Linked DNA regions of Homo sapiens: region 1 is linked to region 2. The links are contacts of gene promoters, found by promoter capture Hi-C in human tissues and cell types (Jung and others, 2019). All regions are on one chromosome and are shown on one strand. The core of a region is centred on a gene start or on the middle of the fragment in contact, and the rest is flanking DNA. Distances in the headings are between cores, read along the strand shown.

Region 1 (7,238 bases), core at 847-3,346, 250 kb after region 2:
CACATGATCAAAGGAGAGGGCTGCCCTCCGACGGTCCCCACAGAGCCACGCGCCCCGGAGGCCAGGCAGCTTGCCTGCTCCAATTTATTGACTTGGCTTATCCGAGATGCTTTCTAGCAGACAAATGGGAGACCTGAAGGCTAATTAATGATGACACCGGAGACTGGCAGTGCATAAAGGAGAGAGGTCATGGACAGATCCACAAATGTCCTTCACTGTTCAACCGGAAGACTCGCATACGATATTGCTAGACCACCAAGGTTGCCTCAGGCGTGGGCTGTGCCAGGAGCTCCAGTTAAAAGCCAAAGTCACCCCAGGTTCTCTTTCTGTTATTTTTCTCTTTACACAATTTTTTGGCAATTAAAAATATATTAATTTCCGAAGTTAGTTACTACTAAGTGATCACTGTGAGACAGAGATGAAATATTAAAAACCAATACATAGTGAAATAACTGAGACTACATGGAGAATATTTTCACTTACAGGTTAAACACTGGTGGAGTATTTTAGTGAAAGGAAAGATATGGCCTAGACTATTTTAATATTTCAGATATTAGGCTGTTAAGGTCAGAATTATCTGTTTTTTGTTTTTCACCCCTAAGAACAAGGGAATAAAGCTTATTAAGCCACTTAAAAAGCCTAGGCAGGTTAGAAAAATGTAGCAGTAAGACCCAGATATAATTCATCAAAATCAAATACGTTTAATTGCTTTGTAAATCAAATGTATGTGGGCAATTGGTATGAAGATATGAAACTTGTTTCTTTTTGTATGAGCTGAAGGACCTGTGGGCTTAGTTAAGTCAGAATACAGTTTTAGAGGAAAGGAAAGGTTTATCAGGCTATCTGCTTTTCCAGAGTTCTCTCTTCTTCCCTGTCTGGTTACCTAAGTCTTACCCCACCCTTCCACAGTCCTGCGCCAGTTCTGCCTCTTCCTCACTTTTACAAGATCCATGTCCTGTTCACAAGCTCCCTGCTCAAAGGACCGCCATAGAAAATGGCTGCAGCAACATATGGAATTTTTTTACTAAAGCAAATTCTTGTATTATATCAATGGGGCTTAGATGAGAGACATAAAGTGAAGCCAGAGATCAAAAGCCTAGAATGCTTGGTTAAGGAGTTTATCATACAGGAATCCATTCAATAAATACATCAGTTCGGCTAGGCGCGGTGGCTCACGCCTGTAATCCCAGCACTTTGGGAGGCCGAGGCGGGCGGATCACGAGGTCAGGAGACCATCCTGCCTAACACGGTGAAACCCCATCTCTACTAAAAATACAAAAAATTAGCTGGGCGTGGTGGCGGGCACCTGTAGTCCCAACTCGGGAGGCTGAGGCAGGAGAATGGCGTGAACCCGGGAGGCGGAGCTTGCAGTGAGCCGAGATTGTGCCACTGCACTCCAGCCTGGGCGACAGAGCGAGACTCCATCTCAAAATAAATAAATAAATAAAATAAAATAAATAAACACATCAATTCAACACATGTCTACTGAGCACCTACTACGTGCCATAAATTGTGTCAGATATTGGGGTTCCATCAGCAAAAGAAACAGACTAAATTCTCTGCCCTCAGACATTATAGTGAATGGGTCACCAACTAAGATTTCTTAATGGGTATGGCACGCAGTAATTATTGTTTCTAGTAACTTGAACTGCAGGCAAACCTACGAGTTATTTCCTTCCATGTTCATCTTTTCTACTTTAATCCCTTTAGTAAGAACAGGACCGTCTAGTGCACTTCCTGGTGGTGGGGTGGGAGGACGTGGTTAGAAAAAGTGAATGTCCTTTTAGCTTCCTGCCCCCAAACACACTTTTATCAAAACAAATGTAAAAACAAATTCAGAACTCAGAATCTCAATATTAGCTTAACTTGCACAATTTTCTTCTTATGGCATTGGCCTTAAACTGACTAAGGAATTACATGAAATGCAATGTAATAAAATACTAAAGTTAGAACAGTAATATTTTATTTTGGCTAGCAGCAATGCATGGACTTCTATGAAAGGGGAAAATCATACTTACAATTAATAAAATATTAGATATTTTTTCATTTGCTTATTAAAGCTTGGCACAAATGAGAAGGTACTATTTTGTGGCTATCTACTGTACACACTTTTTTATAAGGCCATATAGAAAAGGCCACACAAAGGGAGGTTTCAAGTTGATTTAAGCCAAAAACAAATGACAGAAGCCTGCAATAAAAAGTACCTATTTCATGTTCTTGAGGTCTGATGCTACACAGCAGGAGTATTTTAAATCTTGGCAGGGTTAAGAGTAGGGAGTGGTATTACTGGAAATCACAGGGTGAGGATAACTAGGAGAGGGCAAAGGGGAAATCTATTCAAGGAGACACCGACATAAGTTAGATTTTGAAAGGGACTGCTACACCCATTTTCTACTAAATAGCCCTTCAAAGCCCACATTTCTCAGCTCAAATCAGACAACTGTGCATTAATGACCCATATGTGGAAAATCTATATGTAACCAAAGGTGTTTTCCTTCTTTAACCTTGGTTTGGGGATTCACCTGACATCATATGCAAATTTTTCCTCCTAATGACTCTATTCATCCAAAGGCAAGACACTATATTTAAAGTGGTCAAAAAACTCCGAATTCCCAGTTGTCCATTCAAGTTAAAACACAGGCTTTAGACACATGGAACCCAGGTCAAAATATTATCTCAGAATAATGTAGCTACATACATGGACTTAGACAAACAAGTGCCTTTTTATAGACAAACAAGTGCCTTTTTATATCTACACATACATAGTGTCTATGCCTCAAAAGCTAATTAGAACATTGTACTTAGTGAATAGAGCTTTAGTATACTCCAAGAAGTAGAAACAATCCAAATGCCCATCCATCGTCTGATAAATGGATAAATAAAATATACTTTATACACAGAATGAAATATTTGGCCATTAAAACAAATGAAGTACAAGTACATACTACTACATAGAAGAACGTTGAAAACATTATGCTAAGTAAGAAAAGCCAATCACAAGAGACCACATATCCTATGATTCTACTCACATGAAATGTCCCAGTAGGCAAATCTATAGAGACAAAGCGGATTAGTAGTGGCTGAGGACTAGGAGAGAAAGAGGGAGAGAGAGAGAGGTGACAGCTAAGGGGGTAAGGGAGAAAAGTTTTCCTTTTGGAGTAATAAAAATTTCAAAAAATTGATTGTGGCAATGGTTGTACAACTTTGTGAATACACCAAAAGTCATCAGATTGTACACTTTAAATGGGTGAATTATGTGGAATGTGATTTCATCTTAATAAAGCTGCCTAAAGCTAATTAGAAAGTCAGCCTTAAACTGGAACTATAATGAACAGATAAATGAAGAATGCCTCATCTGTACTTCTTTATATAAGGTAAATAATTTTAAAAATCTTAGGTGCAACTATGTCTTCATTATAATACTTACAATATTACTAAACTAGGAATCAAAAGTGGGAAATGAGTTTGAGATGCACATGTAATTGAGAAATTAAACATATTAGTCAATCTTCAAAAAGTAGCAACAAACGTTATTAAAATAAAAGACCTGGCCGGGCAAGGTGGCTCACGCCTGTGATCCCAGCACTTTGGGAGGACAAGGCGGGCAGATCACCTGAGGTTGGGAGTTCGAGACCAGCCTAATCAACATGGAGAAACCCTGTCTCTACTAAAAATACAAAATTAGCCAGGCGTGGTGGCGCATGCCTGTAATCCCAGCTACTCAGGAGGCTGAGGCAGGAGAATCACCTGAACCTGGGAGGCGGAAGTTGTGGTAAGCTGAGATCATGCCATTGCACTCCAGCCTGGGCAACAAGAGTGAAACTCCACCTCAAAAAAAAAAAAAAAAATAAAATAAAATAAAATACCTACTAAAAATAACTGAACTCAATAATAGAAATACAAGTAAAGCATTTAAATTAAAAGTGCTAACTTTTGGAAAATTAAAACAATAGCTTTCGCACATTCTTAATTGTGGCATACAGCTATGTATATATATTTACACATATACACCAACAATTGGTACATTAGAAAAATTTCCCCTTTGAGGAACATCACACAACGGGGCCTGTTGTGGGGTGGCGGGAGTGGGGAGGGATAGCATTAGGAGATATACCTAATGTAAATGACGAGTTAATGGGTACAGCACACCAACATGACAAATCTATACATATGTAACAAACCTGCACGTTGTGCACATGTACCCTAGAACTTAAAGTATAATAAAAAAAAAGAAAAAAGAAAAAAAATTTCCCCTTTGAACTACTCTTGATTTAAAGATGCATTTATTCTTAGTTTTTCATACACTCTATTTGGCTGGAAAAGTTATTTAATATCTGACTCTTAGTTTCTTGATACATAAAATCTTGTGAGGACTAAATAAACATGTGAAAAAAAAGCATTTTGTATGCTGAATAGTAAAACGCTAGCCAAAATATTCTTCAGCTATTTTAAATAATCAAACAGTAGAAAGGCTGGCTAGATAACATACTGTACGCGGCTTTATTCTTTGTTTCCAAGAAGAGCTAAACAATAACAGCAACCTCACAAACTCTTTGAATAACTGACATTCCTAATGTTTGTGTGTTTAATAAACAAATCATGTTACAGTCTAATCATTTTCCCAGTCCAACTGTCTTTTAAAATTTGCAATACTCACTTTTTCCTATTTCTTGTTTCATGACCCACTGAAATTTACTTCCTCCCCATTGTGACACTGAGAAAGCACTCTGAAGTCACTAATTAACCCATCCTGTGGGCAGTGTCCTCATTTTGTATCTCCTTCGCTGACAACCCAGCAGGATTCTGCATCTTGACTACTTCTCCTTTGTAAAACACTTTGTCCCTTAGCGTCTGTGTTCCCCATTGTGGGCTTTCCTCCTACTTCTGCCTGCCCTGTTTCCTATGCAGCCTCATCTTCCTATACAGAGTCATTAAACGTTAAAGTTCTCTAGGGTTTGGCATAAGGCTGCTCCTCCTCCCATGCTATGCTCTCTGTCTAGACAATGTCATCCAGGTAAACATTTCAGTAACCATATCTGGGATGTGTCTCCCAAGTTTACACAGCTAGCCCACAGTTTCACCTCCTACGGAACTCCTGAATTCATTACTCTTCACCAGGCTGCTATAGTCTCAGCCTAACTGTTCTTCCCATATCCACCCTGCCTCTCTCTGATTTGTTCTCCATACCTGAGTCAAAGTGACCTTTATAAAATCTCATTATGCCAGTCCCCTGCTTAAACCTGCAGGCACCTCTATTACTCTGAGAGGTTGTCTTCAATCCCTCAAGCTGGCCTGCAAGGCCCTCCATGCGCTACGTCTTGCCTGCCTTCCCAGCCTCACCCTGCTCTCCCTGCCACAGTGGCCCTTCTTTCCATTCCTCAAACATGCTCACTTCTTCCCATTATGGTGTTCTCCTGCTATGCCACTCTCCTTCACTTCCTAGTAACCAGGACCTAGTCAGTGCTTAGTCATCATTACGACCTCAGCTCAGAAGTCTCATCAGGTTTTTTTTTTTTGAGACGGAGTCTCGCTCTTTCACCCAGGCTGGAGTGCAGTCGTGTGATCTCCTCGGCTCACTGCAAGCTCCGCCTCATGGGTTCACGCCATTCTCCTGCCTCAGCCCCCTGCCCCCCGCTCCCTGTGCAAAGGCTAATTTTTTGTATTTTTAGTAGAGACGGGGTTTCACCATGTTAGCCGGGATGGTCTCAATCTCCTGACCTCGTGATCTGCCCGCCTCGGCCTCCCAAAGTGCTGGGATTACAGGCGTGAGCCACCGCGCCCGGCCATCAGGATTTCTTTTCCACCTTCCATTCTGTGATGAGAGACCCTCTGTTACAAAGTCATAGCACTGTATACCTTTCCCCTTTTCATGATTATTGGATTGTCTCCCTCATTAGGCAGAAACTGTATTTTTCTTACTGTTAAATCTCCAGCATCTACTGTAATGTCTATCTAGTGAAAGCTGTTCCATGGGTATTTGCTAAATAAATGAATAAACTACCAGTTAAAGGGGAGAAACTTACACATGTGCAGTATGGATATTAGTGTCTTGACAGAATTTGGCTGTAGTACATGTACACTCATGTACCTCAGAATGATGCTTCTGTCAATAATGGACCACATATAAAACAATGGTGCCATAAAATTATAATGAAGCTGAAAAATTCTGATAGTCCGGTGATGATGTAGCCTTTGTAACACTGTAGAGCAAGGCATTACCTTTCCTTTGTTTAGATACACAAATGCTTACCATTGTGTTATAATTGCCTACAGTATTCAGCAGAATACTGAATACAGTTACAGTATAGTACAGCCAGTAGTACTGTAATATACTGTTAACTATATTCAGTATTCTACTGAATAATGTTGGGGACTGTAACAGTATAGAAACCTGTGCAGATTTGTAGCGTAGACGCCATAGGCTATACCATCTAGCTTAGGTGTGAAGTAGGCTACACCATCTATGTTTGTGTAAGTACACTCTATGATGTTTGCACAATGATGATATTGCCTAACGACACATTTCTCAGAACATATCCCAGTTGTTAAGTGACACATGACTGTATGTATGTATATGTAGACACAGACATATGCACATACACCGACACGTGAAAAACATCTCTCTTCATTTGTATAATACATGTAGATGGAGGCAGGGGCTGGAGAAGACACAAGTACACTGACATTCACTCATTCACCCACTTTCACTCACATTCACTCATTCAGATACGAGATACACATTTTTTTTTAAATCCCTGTCCGGGTTCCATAAACATTCATACATTCAAAATACTTACCAAGTATCTGCTGTATGCCACTGAGCTAAATGTTGGGGACAAATATTTAATGAGACCTACTGGTCATTTCTCCTCTAAAAAACATTCACAGTCTAGCAACAATGAGAAACAAGGAAATGAACAAATTGTGATATAGTGTGGTGTGATGGAACGCTGGGTATAGGCCTCTATTTCAGACTGGGCCAGGAGTTAGTAGCCAGGAAAGGCTCTCCAGGAGAGAAAACTTATGAGTTGAACTGCAAAGGTCAAGGAGGAGCTAGCCCTCAACCACAGTGAGGAAAGAGAATTAAGGTGAAATGTCATGAATAAAAGTAATACATGATGAGAACGCACGGGCCATTTGAATGAGTTAAGTGGTGTAGCATGTCTGGAGCTGTGGGACCTTCTCTCCTCAGATCACTGGTGTTCTGCATTCAGATTTTGGTGTAAAGGAAAGAGTGT
Region 2 (7,327 bases), core at 2,654-5,153:
GAGATTAACTATAATTTAAACAAACAAAAAAGCAAGGCAAAAAGTCTAAAAAATATATGTAGCTTATATCATGAGGGACTAATATATAAAAAGCTTCTAAAATATTTTTAAAGACCATCCTGAAAGTAAAAGATGGACAATTTAAATAAAAAGAAGTACAAATAGCCCTTAAACAGGTGAAAAGATTGATTTATTGCACTTTGTTTTCCATTTTAGGAGTTGCTTTTACATTTTATTTTATTTTATTTTATTTATTATTATTTTGTTTAGATGGAGTCTCACTGTGTCACCCAGGCTGAAGTGCAGTGGCCGGATCTTGGCTCACTGCAACCTCCGCCTCCCAGGTTCAAGCGATTCTCCTGTCTCAGCCTCCCGAGAAGCTGGGATTACAGGCATGCATCACCACGCATGGCTAATCTTTGTATTTTTAGTAGAGACGGGGTTTCACCACGTTGGCCAGGCTGGTCTCGAACTCCTGACCTCAGGTGATCCGTTCACCTCGGCCTCCCAATGTGCTGGGATTACAGGCGTGAGCCACCACCTTATTTTGTATTTTAAACATGTTACACATTTACAGGGTTCCAAGTTTATATATAAAACAAGATATATTCAGAGAGGTCTAGCTTCCATTCCTATTTTCTACTTCACCTGTTCTTGATCTTCTCCTATTGTTTACCATTTTTATTAGATTTTGGTTTACCTTTCTATTGTTTATTTTTGAAAATATAAGTAAGTATCCATTTGTATATGTATCTCTACCACCCCGTATACCAAAGGCAGCATACTATATACACTCTTTTATGCCTTGCTTTTTCACTTCACTTCACATCATAGTCATATATCTTCCACATTCCTTAACAGCTTCATAATACTTTGTCGTAAGCATGCATCATTTGAAAAAATGTTCCACTTCATTGACAAAAAGATAAATACAAAACTATACTGGAGGCTGGGCGCAGTCGCTCATGCCTGTAAACTCAGCACTTTGCGAGGCCGAGGTGAGTGGATAGGTTGAGGTCAGAAGTTCGAGACCAGCCTGGCCAACATGGCGAAACCCTGTCTCTACTAAAATTACAAAAATTAGCCAGGCGTGGTGGTGATTGCCTGTGGTCCCAGCTACTCAGGAGGTTGAGGCAGGAGAATCGCTTGAACCTGGGAGGCAGAAGTTGCAGTGAGCCAAGATAGAGCCACTGAACTCCAGCCTGGGCAACAGAGTGAGACTCCGTCTCAAAAAAAAAAAAAAAAAAACTACACTTTGATAACATTTCCCACATATCGATTTAGCAAACATCTAGGAGTTTGACAATTCATTCTATTGGAGAGGCTGCAGAGAAACAGGAAATGCTGCTGGTGTGAATACAAAACTGCACAACCCCTATGAAGGGGAATTTGGCAGAATTAAACAAAATAACATGTTCTTTTACCCTTTGACCTAACAATCCCATTTATAGAAATCTATGCTAAAGACCCACTGGCAAAAGCATATTATATATGCACAAGGAAACTTTTGTATAGCAAAAGACTGGGAATAGCCAACATATCCACTAGTAAGGGCCTGGCTAAATAAACTACAGTACATCCATATATAACCAAAAAGAATAATTATGCCCAGTTCATTTAAAACACAGTATCTTGATTTTACATCCTTAGTTGGATACAATTTTAGAAAAAAGGAAGTACATGCAAAGTTAAACTTCATTTATCTGTTAGCAATATCTCTATTGTTATTCTGTTTTTATTCTTTATCCTGTTATTGCTATTGTTGTGTTTATATACCTGTGAATATAGGTAGATGAAGCAAATAACCATTATGTTAATATTAATATTTATTAATAGTAACATTAATAATAAGGCAATGAAAAGAACCAATATTTTCATTGCCTCCTTGTGTGTAGGAAAAAAGAACCAATATTTTCATCTTAAGAGAAAGGAAGGGCCGGATGTGGTGGCTCACACCTGTAATCCCAGCACTTTGGGAGGCCGAGGCGGGTGGATCACGAGGTCAGGAGTTCAGGACCAGCCTGGCCAAAATGGTGAAACACCGTCTCTACTAAACATACAAAAATTAGCCGGGCCTGCTGGCAGACGCCTGTAATCCCAGCTGCTTGGGAGGCTGAGGCAGAGAATTGCTTGAACGTGGGAGGTGGAGTTTGCAGTGAGCCGAAATTGTGCAACTGCACTCCAGCCTGGGCGACAGAGCGAGACTCCATCACAAAAAAAAAAAAAAAAAAAGAGAAAGGAGACGAAAAACAAGAAGAGCTCAGCTTTAAAAAAGGATCACGACGTAGAAAAAGACACAACACTGAAGATTGTCATGGGTCTTTAAGAAAAGGAAATTTGAGACGGCTAAAACGCCGAACAGTGTGGAGTTTGGGGAAGAGATGTGGCTAAAGACAGCGTAAGCAATTTTTTAAAGTTATGTCTGAAGCAAGAAGAAAAGACAAGGAATAGGTTCAGTTTCATCTCTGATACACCGTTTCTTGTTAAAATTGATGTTTTTTTCTGCAGGCATTTGCTTCCTGAATGATGGTCCCACTCAGCCATCCACCTATACTTTCTACAAAGTCAATTTATACTGATTCTTCAGATCAGTTAATCACTGGTACGTTTCCCCTCCCCGGTCAAGGATCTTTTATTATACGCTATCATAGAATCATATTCCTTTCCTTAGCGCACTTCTCTCAACTGATAAGTGCCGCCATTAATGTACTTACTTGATAAATATATGCCTGCCTTTCCTCTTCCAGGGCCGAAACTGTGCCTGGTTTTGCTCATCATTCTATAGTCTATAGCACGAGTTCAATAAACAGTTGTTAAAGCAACATATTTAACTTACATTTTGTTCCCATCTCTTCACTCAGAGACTTTTCTTTGGATTGGGAAGGGTAAAATATCCGAAGATTTGAACTCCAAAAGAAACAAAATGATTCTATGCAAACGTTTCCTACTTAAAACTCATTCATTGGACAAATATTCACTTAGTCCCTGGCACTATTTGGTAATAGGAATACAGGAGTGCATATGGCAGATAAAGTTCTGTTGCTGCCCTTACCAAGTTTCGTGGGGGTGAGATGTGGTGTTAGTAAATGCATACTATTTTGTCTGTATTTAAATCGAGTCCAAATCTCTCGCTCTACAGCCCGCCTTGGGATGTTTCTTATATCCCAAGAAACAGAATATTTTGATGGGATCGCTGATGTTTCAGACTGCAAAAGCAGCTCAGGGCGTTTGCAGTCGTGCAAGTCAACAAGATAACCGTCTGGACCGGAAGCTGGGCTCCTCCCGGTCTCCTAACGCCAAATCCAACACCAAGCTTCTGCAGCTGCCACCTCCCGTAGACTTCGCATTTCTTCCGCACTCTCCTCTCACGACGGGTCTTCTTTGTTGTACTTAATTTCCTACGCAATAAGATTTCAGCATGACCATCAGTCCCCCAAAGACTAATTCCCACAGAGCCGAAGTTCCCACCAAGGGCCGAGGGTTAAGGTTACTAAAATCAGCGTTTCTGAATCCTGTCTCAAGTTGTCTCATCTGGGCTTCCGTAAGAACGGTTTCTTCATAAGAGGGCCTTCAGCGACAGCCAAGCTCGGAAAAGAACGGGAATAAGTTGTCTTTTATATTTCCTCAAATACTGTGAATGGTCTGAGGCGCAGGTCAGGTGTATTTAAAAACCTTTAAACAGTATTCCCCCGCCCCAAAAACTGGCCTTGAAGGAACAAGTGAAACTCATCCTGCTTTTCATGTTTGCTGGGTTTGCCCGTTACACCCCTTCGCCCGCACTTATCTAGACAGGCAGCTCTCGGCCACCCTCCGGGGTCCTGATTTTGAAAAGAGGAGTGGACCAATCAGATGTGGAGCGCTGTTTCGCGCTGCCATTTGAGCCTGGGCTGAAACTGCGGGTGTGACCCCCCCGTGGTGGCTCTGGGTGTCTGCGGAGGAGCTGGGGGCGGAAGCATGAGGCTAACGGCTTGGCTTCAGTGAACGCACCGGGATGTGCAGGCCGGGAGGTAGAGGCAGGCTGATGGGGGAGGGAACGAGCAGCCTGTGAGACGGGGTGACGGCGGCTACCAGCCCGGGCGGGCACCGGGACTGGAAGAGTTGCCTGAGCAGCCGGCTGGTCCGGCGGCCAGGCTAGGGCGGGGGCGAGCGCCCAGTTGAGCCTGCTGGGGCTGGAGGAGCGAGAAGGGTTTTCTTCACATTTCAGAGCGAACCAGACGGGGACAGTAAGGTTTGGAGGAAGGGGGATCGTTGGAAGTAGCAAGAAGTGGAGAGAATCTGGCAATAGACGAGAAACCGAAAGAATCAGAAAGAAGTCTATGTGAGTAGCTGAAAGCATTGGGTGACCAGAAAGAAGGTCGGTGTAAGTGAAGGAAGAGTGAGGTGTGGCTGGATCAAAGGGCTAAGAGAAGCGGGTCTGTGTAAGTGGATGTGAGTGAGGATCAAGGAAAAGCCGTGGAAGTGGCCGGGGGTCGGGGCCGCAGAAGTGCCAGACGGGGCCGGAAAGCAGCCGAGCGGAGTTCAAATTTGAGAGCGTTTGGAAATTGGAAGACTTGGTGGCGAACGAGGGTCAGGACCTGCATCCTGCCTCAGAGAGTTATCGACGTATCCGGAATGTGGGATCAGAGGCTGGTGAGGTTGGCCCTGTTGCAGCATCTGCGGGCCTTCTATGGTATTAAGGTGAAGGGTGTCCGTGGGCAGTGCGATCGCAGGAGACATGAAACAGCAGCCACGGAAATAGGGGTAAGTTCTGTGAAAAGGGATTTAGGTTTAAAAGAAAGGGCACACCCTTTATCATCACTTACTACCAGATCGTGCTAAAATGTTCACTCTGTGTATCAAAAAGAATGGTTAGGTGTGTAATTCAGTTCAGATGGTCGATTGCTGATATTTAAAAAGTGACATTCTTGTTTTTTTTCCCCCAAGGATTTTTGATCATTGAGAGAAAGTTGCAGGATTTTCCAACTTCAGCACTATTGACATTTTGGATTAGATAATTTTTGTTAGGGGAAGACGAAATGCTGTTCTGTGAATTGTGGGATGTTTAGCGGGATGTCTGTCTTTTACCCACTAGATGCTGGTAGCATCTCTCAGTTGTGACAATTAAAAATGTCTCCGGATATTGCCAGCTTACTGTATTTGGAACAGGTAGTACGTTGGGAGGGACAAAAACTCTACCCCTCCACCCTTGTTTTAGAGTAAGGTTGTAGAGGGACAAGGGAGACCAGTGCATTTTCTACATGAATCTGTAGATGAAGAAGTATGACAGAACATTAGAAATAGGCTTCAAATGATGACTGCATATTCACTAATTTGGGAAACAGATTTGCTGCTTGGCCATGTCATACTTTTGGGACAGTAAATTTTTTTTTGTATGAGTAAATTGAGAAGCCAGAGTGGAATAATTGAGAAGTTGTTGATGTTTTGGTGGTTGAAATAAAGGGATTTTGAATGAGATTTTAATAGCTCTGCCACATAATCAGGAATTCCATTGTGAAAAATAAGCTGAATGTAAAGCATTTTATTTTAAATTTATGTGCCTAATTTATATGGTACTTCCTAGTACTTGGAGACAAGCTAATAAAATTAATATACGTTGCTTTTAATAGTTTATGGTTTCTTAAAAAAAGTGCTTGGAGAAGAAAACCACTAACAAAAGTAATATGTGTGCCTCTTAATCGCTGATAAACTTTGGAGAAGTTATTTTTGTTGGTAGCAAATTAATGGCAATACATGTACTTACATTTAAAAAGCTACAGTGATTTTTTTCTGATTGTAAAACTGGCTTTCCAAGATCTCAAATGTAGCTGATTTTGTAAGTATATGGAAGAGTTTGTATATGGACTTTTTTTCACCCCTTTTCTTTTCTTTTCCTTTTTTTTTTTTTTTTTTGAGATGGAGTCTCCCTCTGTCGCCCAGGCTGGAGTGCAGTGGCGCGATCTTGGCTCACTGCAAGCTCTGCCTCCCGGGTTCACGCCATTCTCCTGCCTCAGCTTCCCGAGTAGCTGGGACTACAGGCGCCCGCCACCACACCTGGCTAATTTTTTGTATTTTTTAGTAGAGACGGGATTTCACCGTGTTAGCCAGGATGGTCTCGATCTCCTGCCCTCGTGATCCGCCCGCCTCGGCCTCCCAAAGTGGTGGGATGGCAGGCGTGAGCCACTGCACTCGGCCTTTTCACCGCTTAACAAGAAAAACTGTTGCCTGTTTTCAGAGTCAGATAGACCTGAGTTTGAGTGCTGTTCCACCCCTACTACATCTGTAAACTTGGGCTGCTTGTTTGATTTCCCTAAGCTTCAGTTTTATATATATAAAGTGGGAACGTATTTCTCCTTGGATTATTTAGGGATTTTTAAAAAGTGAAGCTCTTTATGTAGGCCTAGCACAGTGCGGGTAACATGCCACTTCTTCATCTAATGATAGTTGTCATATCATTGGTCTGCCTCCTAATTGGTAATCATGCCATATAAATTCAGCTAGAAACACTTATAAGAATATTCTAATGAAGAAATATAGAAGATCATTGTGTTAGGAGATCTAATGGGATAGTTTGTTTGAAAACAATTTCTTTAGCCGACTGGTGTTTGTTAGCTAACTGTAGTTTTAAGTTTTAAAAACATTTTATGAGATTAAATTATAGTGGTTACTTGTGAGGCCAGTTATTCTAAATAATAAGACTTAAGGAAAAAAACACGCTGAATTCTAGTTATATATAGCAGAAGTAGACTTACCAGCTTAAGTATCTGGTTTATTTTTACATTTGGTTTGGCTGCACAGTATCAAGAAAATTCTGATTTACCCAATAAAGGGGTTGCCCATACTAACATTTTTTAAAATAGTTCAGCTTAAAATGATGATCATAATATTAACAAATATTTTTTGAATGCTTACTGTGTGTCAGACACTGATACAAGTGTTTTGTATGTTTTAATTTATTTAATTCTTCCTACACCTCTATGACTTAGGATCTGTGTGAGGATACCGAGGAACAGAATGTTAATTTGATCCAGGTCACTCAGCTGTTAAGCAAGAGTTAAGATGTAAAGCCTGGCATTTTTGTGTGTGCGATGGCTCACGCCTGTAATCCCAGCATTTTGGGAGGCCGAGGCGGGTGGATAACGAGGTCAGGAGATCGAGACCATCCTAGCTAACACGGTGAAACCCCCCCCCCCCCGCCCCACGTCTCTACTAAAAATACAAAAAAATTAGCCAGGTGTGGTGGCGGGCGCCTGTAGTCCCAGCTACTCGGGAAGCTGAGGCAGGAGAATGGGTGAACCCGGGAGGCGGAGCTTGCAGTGAGCCGAGATTGCGCCACTGCACTCCAGCCTGG

Evidence for each region. Contacts are between HindIII fragments. The study calls those that stand out against the background at their distance.
Region 1: a fragment that was not itself captured here is called in contact with the fragment with the promoter of ARHGAP11A in region 2 in 4 of the 25 tissues and cell types used here (IMR-90 fibroblasts, dorsolateral prefrontal cortex, lymphoblastoid cells and 1 more).

The regions. Positions count from the first base shown.
Region 1 is chr15:32,862,006-32,869,243 of GRCh38, forward strand. The region is part of intron 16 of FMN1 (formin 1); the gene reads right to left. Among named protein-coding and RNA genes, the nearest start is that of GREM1-AS1, 150 kb to the left of the region's middle. The HindIII fragment of the contact is 5,122 bases long and covers 1-4,657 here.
Region 2 is chr15:32,611,601-32,618,927 of GRCh38, forward strand. ARHGAP11A (Rho GTPase activating protein 11A) reads left to right here and starts at 3,904. Exons shown (of 12, transcript NM_014783.6): 1 at 3,904-4,740. The coding sequence starts at 4,612. It overlaps ARHGAP11A-SCG5 (ARHGAP11A-SCG5 readthrough), which reads left to right and starts at 3,876. Exons shown (of 14, transcript NM_001368319.1): 1 at 3,876-4,740. The coding sequence starts at 4,612. ARHGAP11A-DT (ARHGAP11A divergent transcript) reads right to left here and starts at 3,146. Exons shown (of 3, transcript NR_135833.1): 1 at 2,837-3,146. The HindIII fragment of the contact is 9,261 bases long and covers 1,704-7,327 here.